Regions from separate parts of the Homo sapiens genome. Here region 1 is linked to region 2. Evidence: promoter capture Hi-C in 16 types of primary human blood cells and fetal thymus (Javierre and others, 2016). All regions are on one chromosome and are shown on one strand. The core of a region is centred on a gene start or on the middle of the fragment in contact, and the rest is flanking DNA. Distances in the headings are between cores, read along the strand shown. Region 1 holds the start of TMEM165 (transmembrane protein 165). Region 2 holds the start of SCFD2 (sec1 family domain containing 2).

Region 1 (5,665 bases), core at 2,371-4,870, 2.0 Mb after region 2:
TAGAAGCTTAAGGCTTAGTAAGGGTGTTGGAATAAAAGACATTAAAATACAGTGCAGGCCCGGCTCAGTGGCTCACACCTGCAATCCCAGCACTTTGGGAGGCCGAGGTGGATGGATTACTTGAGGTCAGGAGTTCGAGACCTGCCTTGCTAACATGGTGAAACCCTGTCTCTACTAAAAATACAAAAATTAGCCAGGCATGGTGGCGGGCGCCTATAGTCCCAGCTACTTTGGAGGCTGCGGCAGGAGAATCGCTTGAACCTGGGAGGTAGAGGTTGCAGTGAGCTGAGATCGCACCACTGCACTCCAGCCTGGGTGACAGAGCGAGACTCCATCTCTACATAAATAAATAAAAAATAAAATATAGGTCAGGCACAGTGGCTCATGCCTATAATCCCAGCACTTTTGGGAGGCCAAGGCGGACGGATCACGAGGTCAGGAGATCAAGACCATCCTGGCTAACATGGTAAACCCGTCTCTACTAAAAATACAAAAAATTAGTGGGGCGTGTAGCACATGCCTGTAATCCCAGCTACTCAGGAGGCTGAGGCAGGAGAATTGCTTGAACCCGGGAGGCGGAGGCTGCAGTGAGCCGAGATCTTGCCACTGCATTCCAGCCTGGGCAACAGAGCGAGACTCCACCTCAAAAATAAATAAATAAATTAATTAAATAAAATACAATGTAATGCACATGTAGTAGGGTTTCTTTCCATAGGATGCCTGACAGTGGTTACATTTTAGTAAGACTATATCGGTGTAGGCTATGATTAAAAAATATATCATCTTGGAATTGTTGCGCCACCCACATCCTTATTGGGTAGGGGGTTAAATAAGTAGCTTCAGTTGTCCTTCAAGAAAGGTATCAGGAAAGCTCCTATAGTTTTTTAATTGCTTTTTTTAAGGGAGTTAGTCACCAATGAGGACTAGAAGGATGATGGCTCTAAACCCTCAAGGTGGTGAAAACTGGAGCCAGCCTCGATTTAGCACGCCTGAGCACGGATCCCAGGAGGTAGATGTGTGTGGAAACAGAAATACCAGATCCCATGAGAATCAGACACCTAGAGCCTAGCCTGGCAGCACCTGAAGGCCCTTGGATCAGGGTGACACTGGGGCAGGCTAGAAAGGTCTCACTCTGGCCCAGATTCTGATGCTTTGCTGACACCACTGTGCCAGTTCGCCAATGCTCTATCTCCATTTATGTTACATCTTCTGCCAAATAGCTTTGCTGCCTTGCCCCTGAACCACTGCATGCTCAGCAGCTGGTGCTTCAGCATCCTGCAGCTGTAGCCCAGAAGTCCTCACTGCCTCATATGTTGAGATGACTGAATTTGGCCAGGAGTCCTTCCTGTGAGAAAGCCCTGGAGTGTGGGCAGCCCATCCTAGAAAATAAACAAAGCAGCTTTCAGCAATGAGGGACACACAGCCAGTTTTGCTACATTCACCCTTCTGGCTCTGTCTTCAGCCTAAGCTGCTCCTTTCAGGTCCCTCCCTTGGGACCTCAAGCCTCCCTTTCAGGCCCCTTTTAAGCACAGCAAATCCTGTATGCATTAAGGGGAGGTAGTTGAAGTTTGGGCTTCTGGGTTTTATGTTATTACTGGCTTCTGAAAGCTCAAACATTTGCACTCCAGGGATGATAGTTGCATCTGTTAAATTTAGTGTAAAGCTGCCTCCTTACATATTTTAAGTTAGGCCTAAAGGTTTCCCCATACATGGTGAACTGTAGCCTAATTGGGTATGTAAACAGACTGTAACCTATTCTTGTACCAATCACAGAGTTCTGGCCAATCACAAGTGGCCAACTGTTCAAACCGTGTTCAAATAGGGCAAACCTGAGCTACAACCAATCCAGCTGTTTCTGTCCCTCAATTATGTTTTCTGTAAGTCACTTTATTTTTTCCGACCACTCGGCAAGACTGGAGCCTCTCTGAACTTACTTTGATTTGGGGTCTTTTTGATTTGCAGATCATTCTTTGGGTTCTTTGCTTGATTAAACGCTGTTAAGTTTAATTTGTCTAAGGTTTTTCTTTTAACACACCCCAAACTGTAAGTGGAGGCATCCTACTTACACAGTAATAGAAGAATGCATAAAGCAATAACATGAAGGAACAAGTGACAAATTCTGTAACGCCATGTGTTGGGGAAAAGTTCTGAGAGTGGAAGCTTGAATAGGTTTTGGAAGTATGAGTAGGAGTTTACAAGGAGAGAATGGAAGAAGGGGAATTACGGACAGAATAACATGGACGGAGGCCGGCCGCGGTGGCTCACACCTGTAATCCCAGCACTTTGAGAGGACGAGGCCGGCAGATCACCTGAGGTCTGGAGTTCGAGACCAGCCTGACCAACATGGAGAAACCCCATCTCTACTAAAATTACAAAGTTAGCCGCGTATGGTGGAGCATGCCTGTAATCCCAGCTACTCGGGAAGCTGAGGCAGGAGAATCTCTTGTACCCGGGAGGAGGAGGTTGCAGTGGGCCGAGATCTCACCATTGCACTCCATCCTGAGCAACAAGCGCGAAACTCCGTCTCAAAAACAAAAACAAAGAAAACAACAAAACAAAAAAACAGACGGAAATTTTATTATCCTGTGACAAACACTGTATCTTTGGTGAACTCAAAGTAGGTTTGCCCACTTTCCCACAGATTGTTTTGGTGGATTAATTTTTTGTTTCAGTTAGTGATAAACTTCCTTAGCTCTTTACTGAGTACAGGTTTACTGTATGTAAATATGTATAATATTAGATTAGTGCCTGGCACATGGTTAGCACTATCGATTTTTATTAGGGACTAGGTCTCAAACTTATGGTAATTAAGTAGCTCACTTTTTCTTTTGGGAAGACGTAAAAATATTCTCAAGCCTAACTCAAGACCATCCTTTCCTGTCTTCTAGTCTTGCCCACTCAAAGCTCCATCCTGCAAAAGTCTTAAACAGTCCATTTCAAAAGCCCAGCATTTTTAAAGGGTCTAAGGAATAGCACAAAACAAGATGCACCCAAAACGTCAAGGCCATACTGGACAAGGGCAACGTTAGCCATTTTTGGTCTGGGGTAATTATAGGCAGTATCTTAAAACAAGGCTTGAAAAATGTCATGTTATTTCCAAATCCCATTTCAGAACTTTAAAAAAAAAATAGCATTTTGAGCTCCTAAGAACGTTTTTGGCGGTAGGTGGCCACATGGAGGGTGGCACAGAGGCTCGGCGGGGGAGAGCGGAACAGAGCTGGGCGTGGCAGTGCCTGCGAGTCAGCGCCACGTAACCAGAGGCGCTCGCACTAATTTGACCTCTAAGAGAGACTAAGCGCAGGGAACAGCGGGTGCGGACATTACGGCGGAAGGCTCTGGAGGAAGCAGAAGTGAAGGACCTCGCAGTCCTGGGACGGTGGGGCACAGAGAGAGAAAGGGAGCCCCGGGCGCGGCGCGGTGAGGATGCGAGCAGAGGAAGGACACGCGGCGCCGGGTACCTGCCGGGAGCGCCGGATCCAATGGGAGGAGGGCCCGCGCCGCACCTCAACCTGGCAGAGGACGTCACGACGCCAAGGCGGTCGCCGGGCCAATGGGAGGCCGTCGCGGGCAGGGACGGGGCCGGGAGGAGTCGGGGCTGGGCCGCGCCGAGGCAGCTGGCTGACTCCAGTTTAGCCGCCGCCGGAGAGGACGGGCGCCGAGCCGGGGCTGCGGACTTCGGCCTGCCCCTCACCTCACTCCCGCTGCTTGCACCTCCCGGATGGTGCTGACTGCTCCCTAAGCGGCGGCGGCGGCGAGTCGTGAGGACGCGCCGCGGAGGCTGTTCGGGGTCGAGGCTTCCCGTCGCCGGCACTTCCTCTTGCGGCGCCCGTGCGCGGCCGGCCCGGCAGGCGGGATGGCGGCCGCGGCTCCAGGGAACGGCCGCGCATCGGCGCCCCGGCTGCTTCTGCTCTTTCTGGTTCCGCTGCTGTGGGCCCCGGCTGCGGTCCGGGCCGGCCCAGATGAAGACCTTAGCCACCGGAACAAAGAACCGCCGGCGCCGGCCCAGCAGCTGCAGCCGCAGCCTGTGGCTGTGCAGGGCCCCGAGCCGGCCCGGGTCGAGGTGAGCGGGCCGGGATGGGGCGAGCGAGGCTGCAGGGCCGGCTGCGCCGAGTACCAGGCTCCAGGCCTTTGAAAGCGCCGCACTCCGCCGGCCTCGGCTGGGGGAGGGGAGCCCGGCCCCTGCTCCCGGGGTGGAGGGCGGTCGGCTGCGCTGTTTTCCGGTGAGGCCTGGTCTTGCCCGCTCCTTTAGGGAAAGGGAGAGGGAGAGTCCAAGAGGAGCCCGCTATAAACGTTGATCTCCGGAGGGCCAAGATGCTGCTCCGGGATGGGCGTTTTATTGATCAGATGTGTCTTAGAGTAGCTAGAAAGACTCATCCCTACCAAAAAGTTTTTAACAGAAGGCTGCTAGGAGGCTTTTTGTATTCCCTGAGGATCATCACATCGGCCATTTCATTGTTGAAATAGCTTATGCCAAACTGCTTACCCAAATTCAACTTGGCACTGCCTGTGCTTTTTGCCAAATATGGATTATGAACCATGACTCTCACTTTTTAAAAATGTGCTTTGGCTAGCAGGAAGTAGCCTTTAGGAACGCAGAGGAATTAGTCTCCGGCAGTACAGCGTGCTGCAGCGATGTGGGATGCCAAAACTACATTTATAAGTAAAACAGAATCCTGTATTTTGTCCTTCCCTGAATAGATACTAGAAATCAACTTTTTAATCTGTTAATAGAATTAGTCCTTAGTCACTTGGCAGCGTTTTAACATTTCTCCCTTCTCCCAGTCGTGGGCTTTGTCGTCATTTCCAGTATCTGCTCCCTGAATCCCGGCCAGTGTGGCACTCAAACCCCCACTCCCACCCAGGCCACATCCAGCCCATCTCCACGTAACTAATCTTCCCGAACATTGAATTCTGCCATCTTGTCAGAAGTCGTCGGTGAGTTGCCTCCACTAATTTCAGTCCAGCCTTTTTAGGAGAGTGATGTTCAGGTTTCTTCTGATCTGGCTCCAGCTCACCTCCAGGCTTTTTAGCCACCGCTTTCTTGCTCATATGCTAAAGGGATATGCTCATCTGCAAAAAAGAATGTGCTTCAAGAGCCCTTTGGGACAGGCTTTGTGCTCTCTTGCCAGTTCCTCCCTAACACAAGACCTTTTCAAAGAAAAAAAAAAAAAGACCTGGAGTTTGAAGCCACGGATCAACTCTTCCCACCTTGGAGAACCAGCAGATACCTACTCTCTGTGAAGACTTCCCTAAAATTTCTTGGTTAAGGGTGATTTATCTGACCCTTTCCTTTCCTTTCCTTTCCTCTCCTTTCTCCTTTTTCCTTTCCTCTCCTTTCTCCTTTTTCCTTTCCATTCCTTTCATTTCTCCTTTCCTTTCCTTTTTCCTTTCCTTTCTCCCTTCCTTTCCTTTTTCCTTTTTCTTTGTTGAGACAGGGTCTCGCTCTGTCGCCCAGGCTGGAGTGCAGTGGCCCCGTCTTGGCTCACTGCAACCTCTAATTGATCCTCCCACCTCAGCCTCCTGAGTGGCTGGGACTGCATGCGTGTGCTGACACGCCCGGCTAATTTTTGTTTATTTTTTTTTTTTTTGAGAGAGGAGGTCTCACTATGTTGCCGAGTCTAGTCTCAAACTCCTGGGCTCAAGCGCTTCTCCGGCCTTGGCCTCC
Region 2 (6,028 bases), core at 1,423-3,922:
TCTGCCCCCCTCAGCCTCCCAAAGTGATGGGATTACAGGCATGAGCCACTGTGCCGGGCTCTAAATCATACTTGACTACGTTATATTGATACTTGACTACATTATATTGTAAACTTTTAGAGGGCAGAAGTTATGCTCACCTTATTTATTCTGTATGTTTAAAAAAAGGGCGCGGTGGCTCACGCCTGTAATCCCAGCACTTTGGGAGGCCGAGGCGGGTGGATCACGCGAGGTCAGGAGATCGAGACCACGGTGAAACCCCGTCTCTACTAAAAATACGAAAAGTTAGCCCGGCGTAGTGGCGGGCGCCTGTAGTCCCAGCTACTCGGGAGGTTGAGGCAGGAGAATGGCGTGAACCCGGGAGGCGGAGCTTGCAGTGAGCCTCGCGAGATTGCGCCATTGCACTCCAGCCTGGGCGACAGAGAGAGACTCCGTCTCAAAAAAAAAAAAAAAAAAGCATTACCTACTGAAGATGTAAAGAGCTGTTACTATGATGCTGGACAGTGGGATATTAAGTTTTGCCTAACAGAAGTCTTAGGGGAGGGTACAAAATTATGTGAACTTCCCAGTTGATTATGAAACAACTTTGCTACATTTTTGGCATAAAGAGATAGAAGTAACAGTAATATATAGCATCCACAAAAAAACTCAACAAGCATCTACTTATCAGGTTTTATCTTTTAATCCCCTATGGACTCTGTGATGCTACAGTTATTACTTATATATTTAAATCACAGACTGGACACCTGGTTTTTCCAGTCACATAATTAAGTTTACATCTCAGTATTACCATTTAGCCTACTTTCCATTTTTTATCTGAAAATTAATCTTATTAAGATTAAAAACTCAAATATACCTATTTCGTTTTTTATAACTTAATTCAACTTTTTTTCTGACCGATTAAAGGGAATGCCTACCAATGTCAGTTTTCCGATTATTCTCCCTGGACTTGGAAGTGGCTAGGCTATATTACTAACAGTATTATACAACCTAATTAGAGAACAATAAAGTTGACCTTTGAAAATAACATATCAAACATCAGAAAGTGTCTTTTCTTCATCTGCTTTAAGGATTACATTTGTTTCTTTTGTGTAAATAATACATTATTACAATTTGAGATTATTTACTTAATCTTTAATACAATGAGAGCTAAAAATAAATCAATAAACATTTGAAAATATTTTCTACAATTCTATTTCATCTCATTTACTAGTAACATTTAAGTTCAGCCTCACTTTTGAACACTCATTTCCTAAACCTCAATTGTCTGTAATAATTTTATGTTTTCTTGTGCAGTAGTTTTCCTTCCGCTGGGTCATCTATTAACACTTCTCCAACAAACCAGAGTCTTCTTATGAAGGACTGTTGTGAATACTGGCATTCGTAAATTTCTAAAAATAAAATTTCCCAGGTGCACAGTTTTCCTCCCTGTCAGCATAATCTTGGGCTAAAGTTGTTGTTTAACAAGGCAATGGGCATTTATGACATTTCTACCCATTACAGCATTTAACAAATGTTATTGTAATTGCTAATTCACCTGTCTGTATTCCACTTTAGACAATAAACTCTGTGAGATTAGAGACCGTGTCCATCTAGTTCATCTTTGTATCCTCAATCTAATATATAATAAAAGGTCAATAAAATATATGCTGAATCAATGAAAGTCCCAGCAATGTGGGGAATGGTAATGAAGAACTCCAGAGCAATGCACTTACCTGTGAGATCCAGGGTTCTGTCCACAAAAACCACTGATGCCCTGCCTGCAGCAGTCTTCTTCCTGTTCTTTGCAGGGGCATAATTGGCCAGATCCGCAGCGATGACCTGACTTAAGGAACCTACAGCAAAACACTCCTCCCGTACTCCTAAATGTTCACACAGAGAACTGAGGCCTGACACTAGGCATCTGATCTGCAGCAGCAGCTCTGGGGTTAGCGTAGTGGAGTCCACATCACCCAGGCTTCCCAGCTTCCTCTTGTCCGGTCGGGCGCTATTAAGGAGGTGCACATCCTGGGGTAGCAGTGGGAAAAGGGATGCAAAAGCTGGAGTCAAGGCAAAGTGGGGAGCAACAGGGGCAAGCAATAACGGGACATGGAACACCTCGGCCGTGTAGTTCATGTTGCCCATCCATTCACACAGCTTCTCCTCCAGCTGCTCGAACACCGGCTGCTGCCCCTCCATCTCGGCCGCTGCCGCCGCTGGGACATGATTAGCTGTGAGGTGGACAGCGTGGCTCACGGTTGTGACCACCACACAATACTGGAAGTGACTGCGGCAGATGATGTCCCGTAGGATCTCCACGGTCCGGCCTTTCAGCAGGCAGCTCAGCACAAACACTGCCTTGGGCTGCTTGGCTCCACCACCAATTGCGTCGGGCTCGAACTCTCGCAGGTGACAGTCAGGACCCCCCACCGCCTCCAGGAGACGGGTGGATCCGCAGCCCCAGTGCAGGCTCTCGGCGCAGGCGGCGTCCAGGTAAACCACAGCCCGTTTCACTTTGGCCAGCACCTGCTCCCATCCTTGCTGGGTAAAGGACAGTACGCCCGAGGCGCTCATGGTTGGGGATTCGCAGACTTGGGAAACTACGGTGCAGGAACTTCTTTCAGAACTCACCGCTTCCGGAAATTGGGCTCCGGGAGACTTTGACAGTCTCCACAGTACACGTGGTCGGCCTCTGACACGCTCCCTGATGGCGCTCGGTGATGACGTTAAACTGAGCGGTGATTGGCTAGAGAGGAGGCCGGGAGTGAGGAAGGATGGCGCGGTCGGGAAAGAAGTGGGTGGGGCTCTGTGGCTCCGGGCTTCCTCAAAAGCTCGTGGAGATCAGGTGTTTCCTGAGATGGAGCTGAACTGAGTTCTTTCCGTCGCTCGGCCTGTCTGCGCAGATAATCTTCTCAGATAATCTTCTCATGTTCCTTGAAAAGTCTCCGAAATAAAAACCTAATCCGAAATTTGGTATCTTCCTTAGATATGAACACGTCTCCAAAAGTACAGCCACCTTCTCAATCTAAACTCAGAGCAACTAGAAAAAGATAATAAAAACAACCGTGTGCAATATTTTGGGTTTATAGATTGCTGTCACATACGTTATCGCCCACAAGCCTCATAACAAACCCTGTTGTTCTCATTTTCACTTTCTCCATCTTTCCTCCCTCATCTCATCGTCACTACATCTTATAGGCTTAAAAACTCTCAGAATTCAGCCCTTCCTCTCCATTTTTGCTGTCACAAAAACCCAACATCATCGCTCACCCAGGCAATGATCTCCCAACATTTTCTGACTTTTGATCTCTTTACCCTCCAATTCTATTTTCTTCCTAATAAACAAAGTTGGTCCTACAACTTTCCTGCTTAAAAGCTTCTCCTAGCCCAGTTGCCTATAGGATACATCCACACTCTTTAAAAAGCATCAACATCCTTCTTGATTTCTCAATTTCTCTCCAGCTATTCCCAACATGGAGAAAAATTGTACCGATACAATGAAGTCAATAGGCTGAACCCAAAATGTTTTATGGGTTCTGTTTGTTCCACCAATATACTTACATTACTAAGTATAATCTCTGTGCTAAGCTTCAAAGATGCAATGGTTAATAAAATTCATTACCTAATCCACAAAGAATTTACCTGGTAAACTTACCGAAAATAATCATTCCAACAGTACTGCCTGTGAGAGACTTTTTCTAACTCACCACCACTATCACCCTATCACCTCTCACTTCCCCCACCTATCAAACCACTCAATTGATACATTCGCTAAGTACTTGCCATATCATGGGGTAAGTATTAACACTATTTTCTTTAAACTATCTGTTTTGCTAAATTATGCACTAGATGCTTGGTATCCCCAACACTTATAACAGGTGTTCAATAAATGTTCGTTGAATGAATGTTCAATTAATATCCATGGCCAGGCGCGGTGGCTCATGCCTGTAATCCCAACACTTTGGGAGGCCGAGGTGGGCAGATCACCTGAGGTCAGGGGCTCAAGACCAGCTTGGCCAACATGGTGAAGCTCCGTCTCTACTAAAAGTACAAAAAATAGCTGGACATGGTGGCAGGTACCTGTAATCCCAGCTACTCGGGAGGTTGAGGCAGGAGAATCACTTGAACCCAGGAGGGAGAGGTTGCAGTGAGCCAAGATGGCACCACTGCACTCCAGCCTGGGCGACAGAGCGAGACTCTGTCTCAAAAAAAAAAAAAATTCCACATAATAATATATCCAGCCAATTTTTAATAAATACGTACAGTATTCCAAACACTGTCTGGGTTTTAAGGATATAAAGAAAACTAAACCACAGCCCTGATTTCAAAATAATTATGATGAAATAAAGGGACCCACACATGTAAAACAAGTGCAATAAAATGTTACAGAAGCAAATACTTTTTAAAATTTTTTGTATAGGAGTCAAGAAGGAGGAAAAATAAATTCTAAGAGAAAAAGGAAGAAGTCAGAAAAAGCTTCATATAGGGCATGAGTTTTGACTTGCCTTCAAAGAAACCCAGGTGTTCACCAGGTGGACAGGATGGGGAGGAGGATTCTTAGCAGTCCAGGCACAGAGTGCAGCATAAACAAAGTCGTAGAGGCATAAAACAGTACAATATGTTCTCTGGAACTACAAAGGGTTTCCTATAGCTGGAGTGCATTGTATGAAAAAAGGCGCAAGAAGAAATAAGAGCAAGGAATTAGAAAAGAAAGAAATGGGCTAGATCAGCAAGAGCCTTATTTTCCATTCTAAGTAGTAGCAGCCAGTGGGGAAGTATTAATGTATTTTGGGGTATGGAAATAATTTGTTCACATCTGGATTTTAGAAAAAAAATGGTTCTAGTCAAAACATGGAAAATAATTTGAAATGGAGCAATTTAGCGCAGAGGGAGCAGTTAAGAAAATAATAGTATCAGCAGCAAATCTGGGTGAGAGAGTTGAAAAGCGTAACAAGCAGATGGACAGAGTGGGGAGTATGAATAGACGTTAAGAATATAGTGCCAAAGGGCTTGCTTATTAGTTTGACAGAGAGGGTGACACGGAAGGAGAATTTCAGGTTAGCACCCAGCTTTCTGTCTGGATGACTGATGAATGCCAGTCATTGAGATTTGAAAAACCATTAAGAGAAGCAGATTGCGGAATAAATACAGAGTTTAGTGGGGACATATTTTTGTTTGTTTGTTTCCTTATGGCAAGATAAGTGTAACATAAAAGTCACACCATCTTAACCATTGTAAAATGTACATTTTGGTGGCATTAAGTACATTCACATTGTTGTATAACCAATCTCTGAACTTCTTGTCTCACAAAACTGAAACCCTGTACCCATTAAACAACAACTCCCCATTCCCCCTCTCCACAGTCCTTGGTGACTTCCACTCTACTTTCTGTTTCTATGAGTTGACTACTCTAGTTGTTGGCAATGTAGTAGTTGACTACTCTAGATACCTCATATAAGTGGAACAATACAGTATTTGTTTTGTTGTGATTGACTTATTTCACTTAGCATAAAGTCCTCCAAGTTAATCTATATTGTAACGTGCATCAGAATTTTCTTTCTTTTTGAGGCTGAATAACATTCCATTGTATGTTACACCATTTTGTTTATCCATTCATCTGCCTATGGACATTTGGTCTGCTTCCACCTTTTAGCTATTGTGAATAATGGCACCTTGAATATGCAGCAGAAGAGTCATAAACCTGGTAGAACCTAGTAGGTAAAAGGGCCAATGACAGACCCAAGTTCAAATGTTGAACTAGTAAACAAGAAGATATTCCTACATGTTTGTATCCTTGTCAGCATGAAAATTATTTTAAGGAGCTTAAGTTGAATAAGTTGTTGGATGACAGCCCTTGCTCTTCCATTTAAACCCAGGTCAGTGCCTAGTTACTAACACCTGCATTAATCTTGATCTCAAGCTCACTTTTTGTTTCTACCCCTTGCATCTCATGCTGAATCATACATTCATTAGGTAAGTTTGAGTGAATTAATACTTCATCTTCTCTGAAAGGGCAAGGCACTCATGAAGTCATGGTTGAATATTGTGC

What was found. Contacts are between HindIII fragments. The CHiCAGO score rates a contact against its expected background, and 5 or more counts as called.
Region 1: the fragment with the promoter of TMEM165 here is called in contact with the fragment with the promoter of SCFD2 in region 2 in 1 of 17 cell types (naive CD8 T cells); the score reaches 7.1 in naive CD8 T cells.

The regions. Positions count from the first base shown.
Region 1 is chr4:55,392,337-55,398,001 of GRCh38, forward strand. TMEM165 (transmembrane protein 165) reads left to right here and starts at 3,621. Exons shown (of 6, transcript NM_018475.5): 1 at 3,621-4,060. The coding sequence starts at 3,854. RefSeq lists silencers at 3,427-3,626, 3,827-4,296. The HindIII fragment of the contact is 4,477 bases long and covers 2,159-5,665 here.
Region 2 is chr4:53,363,389-53,369,416 of GRCh38, forward strand. It overlaps SCFD2 (sec1 family domain containing 2), which reads right to left and starts at 2,673. Exons shown (of 9, transcript NM_152540.4): 1 at 1,716-2,673. The coding sequence starts at 2,553. RefSeq lists enhancers at 2,099-2,148, 2,369-2,568, 2,589-2,638. The HindIII fragment of the contact is 6,997 bases long and covers 1-3,353 here.